4 separate regions of the Homo sapiens genome follow, and regions 1, 3 and 4 are each linked to region 2. The links are contacts of gene promoters, found by promoter capture Hi-C in blood cells and fetal thymus (Javierre and others, 2016). All regions are on one chromosome and are shown on one strand. Each heading gives the region's core, a stretch centred on a gene start or on the middle of the fragment in contact. The rest is flanking DNA. Distances are from core to core; before and after follow the strand shown. Region 1 overlaps EEFSEC (eukaryotic elongation factor, selenocysteine-tRNA specific). Region 2 holds the start of DNAJB8 (DnaJ heat shock protein family (Hsp40) member B8). Region 3 overlaps EEFSEC (eukaryotic elongation factor, selenocysteine-tRNA specific). Region 4 overlaps RUVBL1 (RuvB like AAA ATPase 1).

What was found. Contacts are between HindIII fragments. The CHiCAGO score rates a contact against its expected background, and 5 or more counts as called.
Region 1: a fragment that was not itself captured here is called in contact with the fragment with the promoter of DNAJB8 in region 2 in 3 of 17 cell types (endothelial precursors, megakaryocytes and erythroblasts); the score reaches 7.9 in endothelial precursors.
Region 3: a fragment that was not itself captured here is called in contact with the fragment with the promoter of DNAJB8 in region 2 in 1 of 17 cell types (endothelial precursors); the score reaches 6.7 in endothelial precursors.
Region 4: a fragment that was not itself captured here is called in contact with the fragment with the promoter of DNAJB8 in region 2 in 1 of 17 cell types (fetal thymus); the score reaches 5.3 in fetal thymus.

What each region holds. Positions count from the first base shown.
Region 1 is chr3:128,162,679-128,165,378 of GRCh38, reverse strand. The region is part of intron 1 of EEFSEC (eukaryotic elongation factor, selenocysteine-tRNA specific); the gene reads right to left. Among named protein-coding and RNA genes, the nearest start is that of EEFSEC, 11 kb to the right of the region's middle. The HindIII fragment of the contact is 1,356 bases long and covers 636-1,991 here.
Region 2 is chr3:128,465,479-128,468,178 of GRCh38, reverse strand. It overlaps DNAJB8 (DnaJ heat shock protein family (Hsp40) member B8), which reads left to right and starts at 1,289. Exons shown (of 3, transcript NM_153330.6): 1 at 1,289-1,565. The region is part of intron 2 of DNAJB8-AS1 (DNAJB8 antisense RNA 1); the gene reads right to left. The HindIII fragment of the contact is 7,883 bases long and covers 1-2,034 here.
Region 3 is chr3:128,201,568-128,204,267 of GRCh38, reverse strand. The region is part of intron 1 of EEFSEC (eukaryotic elongation factor, selenocysteine-tRNA specific); the gene reads right to left. Among named protein-coding and RNA genes, the nearest start is that of EEFSEC, 49 kb to the right of the region's middle. The HindIII fragment of the contact is 2,019 bases long and covers 431-2,449 here.
Region 4 is chr3:128,088,303-128,091,002 of GRCh38, reverse strand. The region is part of intron 8 of RUVBL1 (RuvB like AAA ATPase 1); the gene reads left to right. Among named protein-coding and RNA genes, the nearest start is that of RUVBL1-AS1, 14 kb to the right of the region's middle. The HindIII fragment of the contact is 4,504 bases long and covers 1-2,700 here.

The DNA.
Region 1 (2,700 bases), core at 64-2,563, 300 kb after region 2:
AATCTCTATTTTTGACAATTTGATTTATATATAAAGTGTTCCTCAGGAGCCACAATTTTCTATGGAAGCAGGCATGTGCTAAGGTCTGAGAGCAGCTTCTGGGCAAAGCCAGGGCCTCTGAAACAGAGCCTGGCACTGGCTACTTGTGCGCCCTGCAGCAAACTGCCTACTGCTCAGAGCCTCATTTCTAGTAGCTGAGCAATGTAGATGGAAACGCCTCCCTAGGAGACTGGCTGGGAGGATGCAGCAAGAGCCACGGGTCTAGAACAGTGTCCAGCAGACAGCAAGCGTTCTCCAAAAGTCCATTCTTTCATCTCCCTCCAAGAGGCAGAACTATCCCTTGGCCACTGCTCAGCACTGCCATGTCTGCAACCCCAGAGCCCCACTTTCCCTGCTGATGGCATCCGCCTTGCCTGCCTGAGGTGTCCTTCCTCTTCTCCTTCATCCAGCTGGGTCAGAAAGCTGAAGCTGGAATGATGAGAGGAATGACAGGCCCTAGGACCACTTGTCACAGTCCTCTCCTCAGACTCAGGGAGCTCACTAAAAGCCACCAGAAGCTTAAAACCTACCAGCCTTCCTCCCAGAAGAGACTCTCCCGGCTCCTGAGATCTGGTCCGGGCTACCCTCTGGAAGCTTGGCCTGATACCCCAGTCACACTCCAGCCCTCCCTTTGTCTCTAGGTCCTTGTTTACTCTGAGTCCTCTAGCTGGAATGCCTCCCATCTTCTAAAATGTAATATCTCAACCATCCTTCACAATTCCCACAAGCCAGTTGGACTGGCCTGTGACCCAGCCAACCTGGCCGCACCTCCTTTCACACCCCCCTGTGTGCAAGTGCCAGCCACCCTGACCACTCCCCTTCTTTAGCCAGGGCTGCTTCCATGCCTCTGGACTCTGCTAAGGCTGTTTCCTGGATCTCTCAGCCTGGAAATCCACAGGTCATCCTTCCAGGCCCAGCCGTGTGTCTCCTCCAGCAGGATTCCCTATCTGCCACCCCAGGCAGGTACTCACATTTCTATGCCCATCTCGATCAAAGCCCTTACCACTCCACATCTTAAACTGGCTGCTGGCACTGCCTGGCTTCCTCCTCCCTACTCGGGACTGTGAGCCCCTTGAACACAGGCACGACTGTGTATCTGCCCTCACGTCCAAAACAAAGCCATGCAACGTGTATGTGTAGAATCTCTGAGTGAGTGGAGAAAAACACCAAATGCAGCTCCATGTGGTCCTTTCCCACCACACAAGCTGCCGAAAGCCCTTAAAACAAGGCCTACCAGCCCAAATGTCTCCATGGGCCAGGCACATCACAGAAAGAGGAGGCAGCCTGAGGAGCACATGCCACACACTGTACACTTAAGATGGCTAAGATGGCAAATTGTACATTATTTATACTTTACCACAAGTAGAAATCAATAGAAATAGTTTTGTTTTTTTTTTTTTTCACAAAAAAATGCAATACTGGTTCCCAAAGCATATGCTCGCTTTGGGAGGCTGAGGCAAGAGGACTGCTTAACTTCAGGAGTTCAAGACCAGCCTGGGCAACATAGGAGGCCAAGCAAAAGTCGCCAGACAAAAAGGCCACATATTGTGTGATCTACTTATATGAAATGTCCAGGACCGGTCAATCCAGAGACATTAAGTAGATTCGTGGTTGCCTAGGCCTGGGAGAGGGGCGAATGGGGAATGACTCCTGGTAGGGATGTGGTTTCTTTATGGGGTGACGAAAATGGTCTAAACTGAGATTGTGTGATGACAGCTACACAACTGTATGAGTACAGTGAAAACCACTGAGTGTTCACTTAGTGTACACTCAGTGAAATGGGTGAATTTTATGGTATGTAATTTACATACCATAAAATTATTTTAAAAAATTATATAAACACTATATAAAATTAAAAATGTTTTTAAAATTATTATCTGCTGTATGCCAGGCTCTGGGTTGGCCCTAGACCTACAGAGATGATTCAGATATTGTCTCTACCCCATCAAGCTTCCAGGCTAATGGAAAGAGGAGACATGGAAACCAGCCATTGGAGTGAAGTGTTCACACCAAGAGGGATGCATGCTGTGCAACCAAGTCCAGAGCCTAGAAGAACGAGGACTCACTCCAGCTCCCTATCCTACCATGAGGCTGCCTCAGAAGTGCCAGGCTCTACCCCCACCAAGACTGGGCCTCCAAGATACCCAGAGTACCAGAGCTATAGATACCATCATTTTCCGCACATCAAAGCCTTTACTGGTAAAGGGGACACAGAATTGAGCTCTTAAGGTAAGAGTATCTCATCCCCAGCCTGGTTGAGGCTCCATCAAACAAAAGAATGACAGAAAGGGGAATATGTCTTAGGGCTTAATTTATGGGTTGTTTCCTGGGATGCCTGCCCGAATCCTATTCCAACCTGGATGGAATGATTCCGAAGAAAAACCCAAGAGACATGCTGATAGAAAACAAAGGGGATGCTCAGTGAAAAGTTTAAAAGCAATTAATTTTAAATGATTACAGCTTTACCGAAAGCTGTGGCTATGATTTCCTTCTGACTTTGATTATAACCTTCCAGCAAAATATTTGCCTCAAGAAGCCAGAGTCTTTGCATTATTTTCTATTCCTAGCACGACTACAAAAATATTCTTTGATTTAACTTTTGATATGTTTTGTTCTCAAGGGCAAGCCCCATGAGAAGAAAAATGTACCCCAACAGAATGA
Region 2 (2,700 bases), core at 40-2,539:
GAGGACAGAGAGGCTTGAAGAGGGGAGGTGGCCTGACAGAATTGACGGTGGAGCGTGTGGGGCCTAAGTGTGCGCTCATGCCTGTGTGTCCCTGTCCCTCCAGCAGGCCCTATGGAGGCCTCAGAGCCCCTGATGCTCCCCACTGGCTCCCCAAAAACTGGCGTGGAAGGAGACTAGCCTGAACCCTTTGCAGAAGGGAAACTCCTCTGCACACTGCCCGGCTCCACGGTCCACAGCTCCCTTCATGGGGAGCTCCCCACAGGGGCCTCCATCTCAGGATGCCCTTGATGGTGAGGTGTGGGACCTGCTCCCAGGTGACACACCTGTTCCCGTAAGTCCTACCGAGTGGTCTGTTCTGTGTGCCCTAAGACAGCCCTGAATGGGCGGCAGTGAGGGGGTCTCCAGCCCTGTCTCCATCCTGGCTGACTCCCACAGACCCATCCCAGGAACAAGGGTTGGAGCAGGGCAGTGGCTGGAAGAAATTTCCCCTGGGAGTACAACGCAGACCAGAGCCAGGGTCTCCAACAAGGCAGGGAGGGCCAGGACGGGGAGGCGGCCACAGGATTCTTGGATGCCTCATCATACTAGGTCCTTTGTCTCTTAACATTGTTTTCACCACCCCTCCTCCACTGTCCTGATTCCATCGTCATGGAAACTTCAGGCTTCACCTTTACAATGTCAGGCCACCAACACCCTCAGCAGTGTCACCATCACCATCAACACCCCAGCGTCCCATCCCCATCTCCTCTACCACTGCCACCAGCCCCACTATCACTATCATCTCTGTCACCGTCACCACGGTGCTCTCCACCCGTGTCAGCATTGTGTCACCACCACATCACTGTCACCACACTTCCTCCACCTCCATCTCCACCCACCATCCCATCTGTGACATCACCTTATCAGCTCTGCCACCAGTATCAACCACTCACACCGCCTTTGCCATCACCACCGTCATTGCCCCCTCTACTACCACCACCATCACCACCACCGGGTCTGCCTCAGCCAGACCCACCACTGCCTCTAATTAGACTGCCACCATCATCACTGCCACCACCACTGCCCCTCCAATGCCTTCCTGATGTCACCATCTGCTTTCTCTCTGCTATCCTCACACCCAACTCCATCACAACCACCACCTTCATCTGAGCCGCCATCACCCTCACAGTACACAGCCCTCAAATGTGTACCAAGGAGGAGGACATTTACTACACGCTGCACCCTGAACAGTCTGGGACCAGCGGTCAGGGAACAAGGAATCGAGATGCTCACCTGCAGCTCCCAGGTGAGCGGCTCTCTAGAGCTTGCCTGGGAGCTGCTGAGGAGCTCACGGTATTCCAGGAAGCTCCCCATCCATGCCTCAGCCTGTGGCTCAGAAGCAGGGTCTTCGCAGAAGATTGCCCCGAGCTGTTGCAAAGCTCACCATTGTCACCTGCCTGCAACGGCCTCTCTTTTCCACTCTCCAAATCCCTTGTATTGGCAGGCTCTAGTCTGGAATTATACCGGTGATGGGATTCTGGAAAATCCCTCAGATTTCTCCAGGATGCAAGGAGACCATGGAAGAGGTTGGTGTAATGCCAAGTTAGCAACAGAAAATACAGAGCCCCACACCTCAGTGCCATCACCATCGCCATCGGCACTCACACCAGCATGTCCACCACTGTGTCCTTCTCACCCCTCGGCACCCCCCTCTACCATTGCCTCTTCCACAACCACCCTCACCACCATCCTCCATTAATAGCACAATTCCTGCCTCCTATCCCATCACCACCACGGGTGTCCCCGGCACCAGCAGCACCAACACTGCTCCCAGCAGAGCCATCGTTACCAGCCCCGCTGTCAGTCCCATCTTGAGCATCTGGCATATGTTGGAGAACTGCTCACTCCCTCTTCCCCATGGGAATCTCAGGCCTCTCTTCCTATTGCCCTGAGATTTGCAGAACCTTCCTGAAGGAAACATTCTTTGCCCCATGGATACTGGCCTTGACCATGGGATGCAGCAAGACTGCCACACATCATGGCCCAACAGAAGCTTTCAGAGGCAGCCCAAGTTCCTGCTGTCTCTGAGTGGCACTGTCATGAGAGAGGGGTGTGCAGGTCAGAGCTGATTCTCCAGCCTGGGACCCACAGTGAGAAGCTATGGGAGGTGGGGCCCTGGCAGCTGCCTGTAGGCACCAGTGAGTGAAGTGGGGGGAACTAGATGTTTGTCGTGAGCCACTGAGAGGTGGAAGCTGTCACTGTGGTATAGCCGAACAAGATACAACCTCTGCTACCTCCACCACCTTCACCTTCATCATCACCATTACTGTCACCACTGCCAACCACACCAATGGCTCACTAGGAGCCATTCCCATCACCTCCTCATCATACCTGCACCATCACTGCCAACCACAACAAAGGCTCGCTGTTACCATCTCCTCTGGCATGACCATCACCACCACCACTACCATCATCAATTACTCTCAAGCACAAGCCTTGCTGCTGTCACCACCAGCATCACCATCATCATGATCAACTCCACCATCACCCATAATTACTCTCCCCCTCACACCCACCATGACCATTACCTCCACATCAACACTGCTCCCATGGTCACCTCTACTATATAATGACACCTTATCCATCTCCATGGACACCCACCGTGCCTCTCCCCACCAGCAACACAGTCAACAGCAGTGCCTCTCCCACTGCCACCGCCAT
Region 3 (2,700 bases), core at 191-2,690, 260 kb after region 2:
TATCCTTATTTTACAGATAAGAAGCTGAGGTAAAAAGTGGGTAAGTCACCAGCTTAAGATCCCAAAACAAGCAAGTGATGGAGCCAGGATTCAAGTAGTATGGTGCTAGAATCTGTGCTCTTAATAGTTTTATTCCGTGACACTGTCCAGAATCTTCTATATTCCTTCCTTACAAAAGTTAACCACTGTTTACAAAGGACTTGTTCCTTGGGAATACATCACTTAATCTTAGAATATGCAAGTCACTGAGAAAATAGGACTCACTTCACAGAGCTGCTTTGCAGCCCACTTAGAGAACTATCTAATACAATACTCCTATAAATAACTCTAGTGTTTCATTTACATTTGGTAACCATGTTTCCTGTTAAGAATTCCTGGGATTATTGATTTATTCCAAAACCAGGTTTCCTATCTAATGGAATGCCAAGCTTGATATTCAACTGGCCAAGTATAACAGTGGCTCAATTATTAAATCAATAAGATAGGTGGTATCAATTAATGGATTATCCTGGAAACTTCTGTTACAACTTTATCCTCAAAGCTCACACTCACTCCAAAATGTAGATATCCTCATGTTGCATGATAAAAAAAGGTAGATACTGCCTGGGAAAAGTCCACCAGCTTTGAGGGCTAGCAGACCTGGCTCCAGCCTCGTTTCTGCCCCTACTCATGTCACCTGCAGCAGATGATTTACTTCCTACAGACCTCCATCTCCTCAGTGCTGTGGACTCACACCTAACACATGCAGGTGATCTAGCCCAGTGCCCGCACACAAGGGAGGTGGCTGACAGTGCTGGCTGACATTTGCCTTCCTTATTCCTGGACTTGTGTCCATCCCCTTCCTCTGCCATCGCCAACACTCATCATCTTCCTCTGCCCAGGTGGAAACAATGACATCACTTTAAGGAAATAGCCTATCATGATTTAAGATCATGAATTAGAACACACCTGAAGGGAAATGTGAATGGCTTGGACTTTGCCATGATATAAGCATCACTAAATGGATAAAAATCAAATCACTTCCGTCAACAAATTCCATTAGGAAGTTGCTGATGAAACAAAGACTTTGCCATTCCTGCTGTTTCACAAATTGTCTCAAATTGCCAACATTTGGGTGTAACCATTCATTTATACTATCTACAATCTGTATTCTACCAACTGATTGATCCATGGGCCAAATAATCCATTCCTGGAAAATAAAAATCTACATGAACATGTTAAAACCATGTTAAAAAATATATTGGGTGAGGCTGAGGTAATGTTTAGAGGGAAATTTATAGCTTTTTATGTTTAATATTCAAAAAAATCAATCAGTATAATTCCCCACACTAACGGAATGAAGAAGAAAAACTATAAAATCATTTCAGTGGATGCAGAAAAAGCACTTGACAAAATTTAACAACCACTCCTGATAAAACCATTCACCACACTAGGAACAGGAGGAATTTCCTCAACACAGTAAAGGATGTGTATGGAAAAACCCACAGCTAACACCATACTTACTAGAGAAATATGAAATGATTTGTCACCATGATCAGAACGAGGCAAGGATGTCCACTCTCACCACTTCTACTCAACATTTTACTGGAAGTTGTAGCCAGTGTAATAAGTTAAGAAAAAGAACATAAAGGTTAGAAAAAGGTATAAAGAGTAGAAACAAAGAAGTAAAACTATCTTTATTCTTAGCTGACATGATTTTTTATGTAGGAAATCCTAAGGAGTCTATAAAACAACCACTAGGACTAATAAGAAGGTTTAGCAAGGTTGCAAGATACAAGATGAATATACATAAACTAATTATGTTAATATATTAGCAACAAATTAAAAATATCATTTATGATAGCATCAAAATACATAAAATACTTAGAAATAAATTTAACAACATATGTACAAGACCTCTATACTAAAAACTTAAAAATACATAAGTGAAGAGATGTGCTAAGTTCATAGATTGGAAAACTCAATATTGTTAAGAGTCAGTTTTCCCTCGATTGAGCTATAGTATAGATTCAATGTAATCCCAATCATAATCCCAGGATTTATTTTTTTTGTAGAAATTGAAAAGCTGCTTCTAAAATTTATATGGAACTACAAAGGATCAAGAATATTCAAAGCAATACTGGAAAAGAACAAAGTTGGAGGACTTACACTACTTGACTTCAAAACTTACTTTATAAAGCTACTAATAAAGACAGTGCGATATTGGTGTGAAGACAGACAAACAAATCAAAGTACAATAGAGTCCAGAAATAGACCTACACTTAAATGGTTATGTGATTTTTCACAAAGGCAACAAAACAATCTAAAAAACTTTTCAAGAAATGATGCACTGGAATAAATGAATAGCCATACGGAAAAAAATCTACTTTGACCCCCATCTCACACCACATACAAAAACTAATTCAAGATAGATTACAGGACTAAATGCAAACGCTAATGTCATTAAGCTTTTTAGAAGGAAACTGAGTAGAATGTCTTCATAACTTGGTGGTAAGCAAAGTTACTTAGAACATAGAAAGCAGTAACTACAACAGAAAAAAGTGATAAATTAGACTTCATCAAAACTTTTGGTTATCAAAAGACACCATTAAGAAAACAAATAGGTAAGCCATAAATTGTCAGAAGGTATTCACGACACATATATCTGACAAAGGACTGATAAGTAGGTTAAAGAACTCCTATAACTCAACAACAAAATAA
Region 4 (2,700 bases), core at 69-2,568, 380 kb after region 2:
ATTAATGCATTTCTATAAATTCTGTTCTTGTGAAGTTTGATTTGGGAGTACTTTATTTTTCTCTAACCTTTTCTTCTTTAAACTTTTTATGTTTGTTGTGATTTATCATGGGTGGTGTAGAATTTTGGATATTTTTGTCCTTGGGATATTTTAATGTGGCAAAATTGAGATCTTAGGATTTCCTCAAAATTACCAAAAGAATTCTCAAATAAGACTTAAAAAACACTTATGGCCTAAATAGAATTAAAAAACTAAAAATTAAATGTAGTTTTAAAAGGTTATTTTGCTTAATGTGAAGGTTCCAGGCACACCAAATACTGAGATTTGAATCATGATAGAATTTCATCTTTATAATTCTTCTTAATTTTAAAAAGACATTCGTTGCTGGAAAAAGATAAGTTTTCTCTAAAGTTAACTTAATACTTGTATTTCCTATTAGTTTGTTTCCATATTTACTTTGAAGATTTTAATTTTTTTTTGTTTTGAGACGGAGTCTCACTCTGTCACCCAGGCTGGAGTGCAGTGACACGATCTCGGTACACTGCAAGCTCCGCCTCCCGGGTTCACGCCATTCTCCTGCCTCAGCCTCCCAAGTAGCTGGGACTACAGGCGCCCGCCACCACGCCCGGCTAATTTTTTGTATTTTTAGTAGAGACGGGGTTTCACCGTGGTCTCAATCTCCTGACCTCGTGATCTGCCCGCCTTGGCCTCCCAAAGTGCTGGGATTACAGGCGTGAGCCACTGCGCCCGGCTGATTTTAATTTTTTTACATTAGATTTAACAATTCATTAATGTAGCATTTTATTCTCTTTTTGAATTGTTTTTATTGTGGTAAAATGTGTGTAACATAAAATTTGCCATTTTAACCATTTTTAAGCATACAATTCATTGGCATTAATGACATTCACAGGGTGGCATGACCATCGCCACTATTTCTAAAACCATCACCACTATTTCCAAAACTTTTTCATCACCTCAAAAACAGAAACTCTGTAACCATTAAGCATGAAGTCCCAACCCTTCCTCCCCTTAGATCCTGGTAACGTCTCATTTATTTCTGTGTTTTTTTTTTTTTTTTTTTTTTTTTTTTTTTGAGATAGGGTCTCACTCTGTCACCCAGGCTGGAGTGCAGTGGCATAGTCTTGGCTCACTGCAACCTCTTCCTCCTGGGCTCAAGCGATTCTCATGCCTTAGCTTCCGGAGTAGCTGGGATTACAGGCATACACCACCAGGCCTGGCTAATTTCTGTCTCTATGAATTTGCCTACTATAGATATTTCCTATAAAGAAACCAGAAAATATTTGTTCTTTTGTCGGTGACTTATTTCACTTTGCATGTTTTCAGGGTTCATCCTGTGCTAGCATGTATTTTGTTTGCATTTTATTTTTGCAGTCATAAATATGCATTTTTATACCTCAACTGGATAGAATTTAAACAGGTAGATTTTATTTTTACTAAAGTTAAATTTTTAGCATGCTTACTTGTTTTTGAAACCAAATATTCAGATACTAACAAATCCAGTTGACATGACTAATTCTTTGTTATATTGATTACTTATAACCATAGACTGTACAATCCTGCACAAGTTTAAGAATGCCAGAAGTGTAGCCTTTCTGCTGTTAGGACCCCCAGAGGCCAAGGCAGAAGCCTACAGCACTTGGGCCCTCCAAACACTAGCTGAAGGCTGGCCCCATGTGCCACCAGTGGCTGCGCAGGGCACCTCAGGGTCTGGTGGGTTGGCAAGGTTCCTCCCTGGGGTGTTATTCCTATGGCTTGGCTAAGGGTTCAAGAGAAAAATAGGCAAAAGATGGGATTGGACCCTTCTCAAAAAGAAGTAAAATAATATATATAAGGGAATACATTCAAATGCCTCATTAGTAATCAAAGAAATGCAAACTTAAGGTGTTACCTTTCCCTCTTTTTCTAAACTGTTGAAATAGCAAAATATTTCAGAATGAGAATACTCGGTAGTGCTATGATCCTGTGAGATTAGATAACTCATGTGTAGCTCTATAAATTAGGATAGTTATTCATTCAAGTAGCTATTCAGGGTTCTGTCAAGCACTACAACAGTTGCTAAGGAAATGCTTATGGCTGTATGCATCAAATTATCAAAATATCAATAAAAATAATAGCAACAATTGGAAACTACCTAAATGCTCAACAATTTGGGTTAAGTAAAATATTTAATGGATTGTTAAGTAAATATTAAACATAATTATTAAGACTGTTGCAAGCCAGGTGCAGTAGCTCACGCCTGTACTCCAAGCTACTCGGGAGGCTGAGGTGGGAGGAGCCCTTGAGCCCAGGAGTCCAGGGCTGCAGTGAGCTAGAATCATGCCACTGCACTCCAGCCTGGGCCACAGAACAAGACCCAGTCTCAAAAACAAAACAAAACAAGGAGACTGAAGCAACATGAAAAAAAACAAAAAAAACTTGCATACTTAGTATAATTTGTAAAATTATACTATAGAGTATAATTAGTATACACTATATATTATACTATAGGGCATAATTAGTATATACTATATATTATACTATAGAGTATAATTAGTATATACTATAATATAGTATATACTGTATATTATACTATATAATTTGTTTATATATGAATGTTTGGCAAATATCTAGATGATTATTTTTGAGTATGATTTTAGTTATTTTTTTCCTCCTTCCCAGTTTTGCTATGATATTGATGAT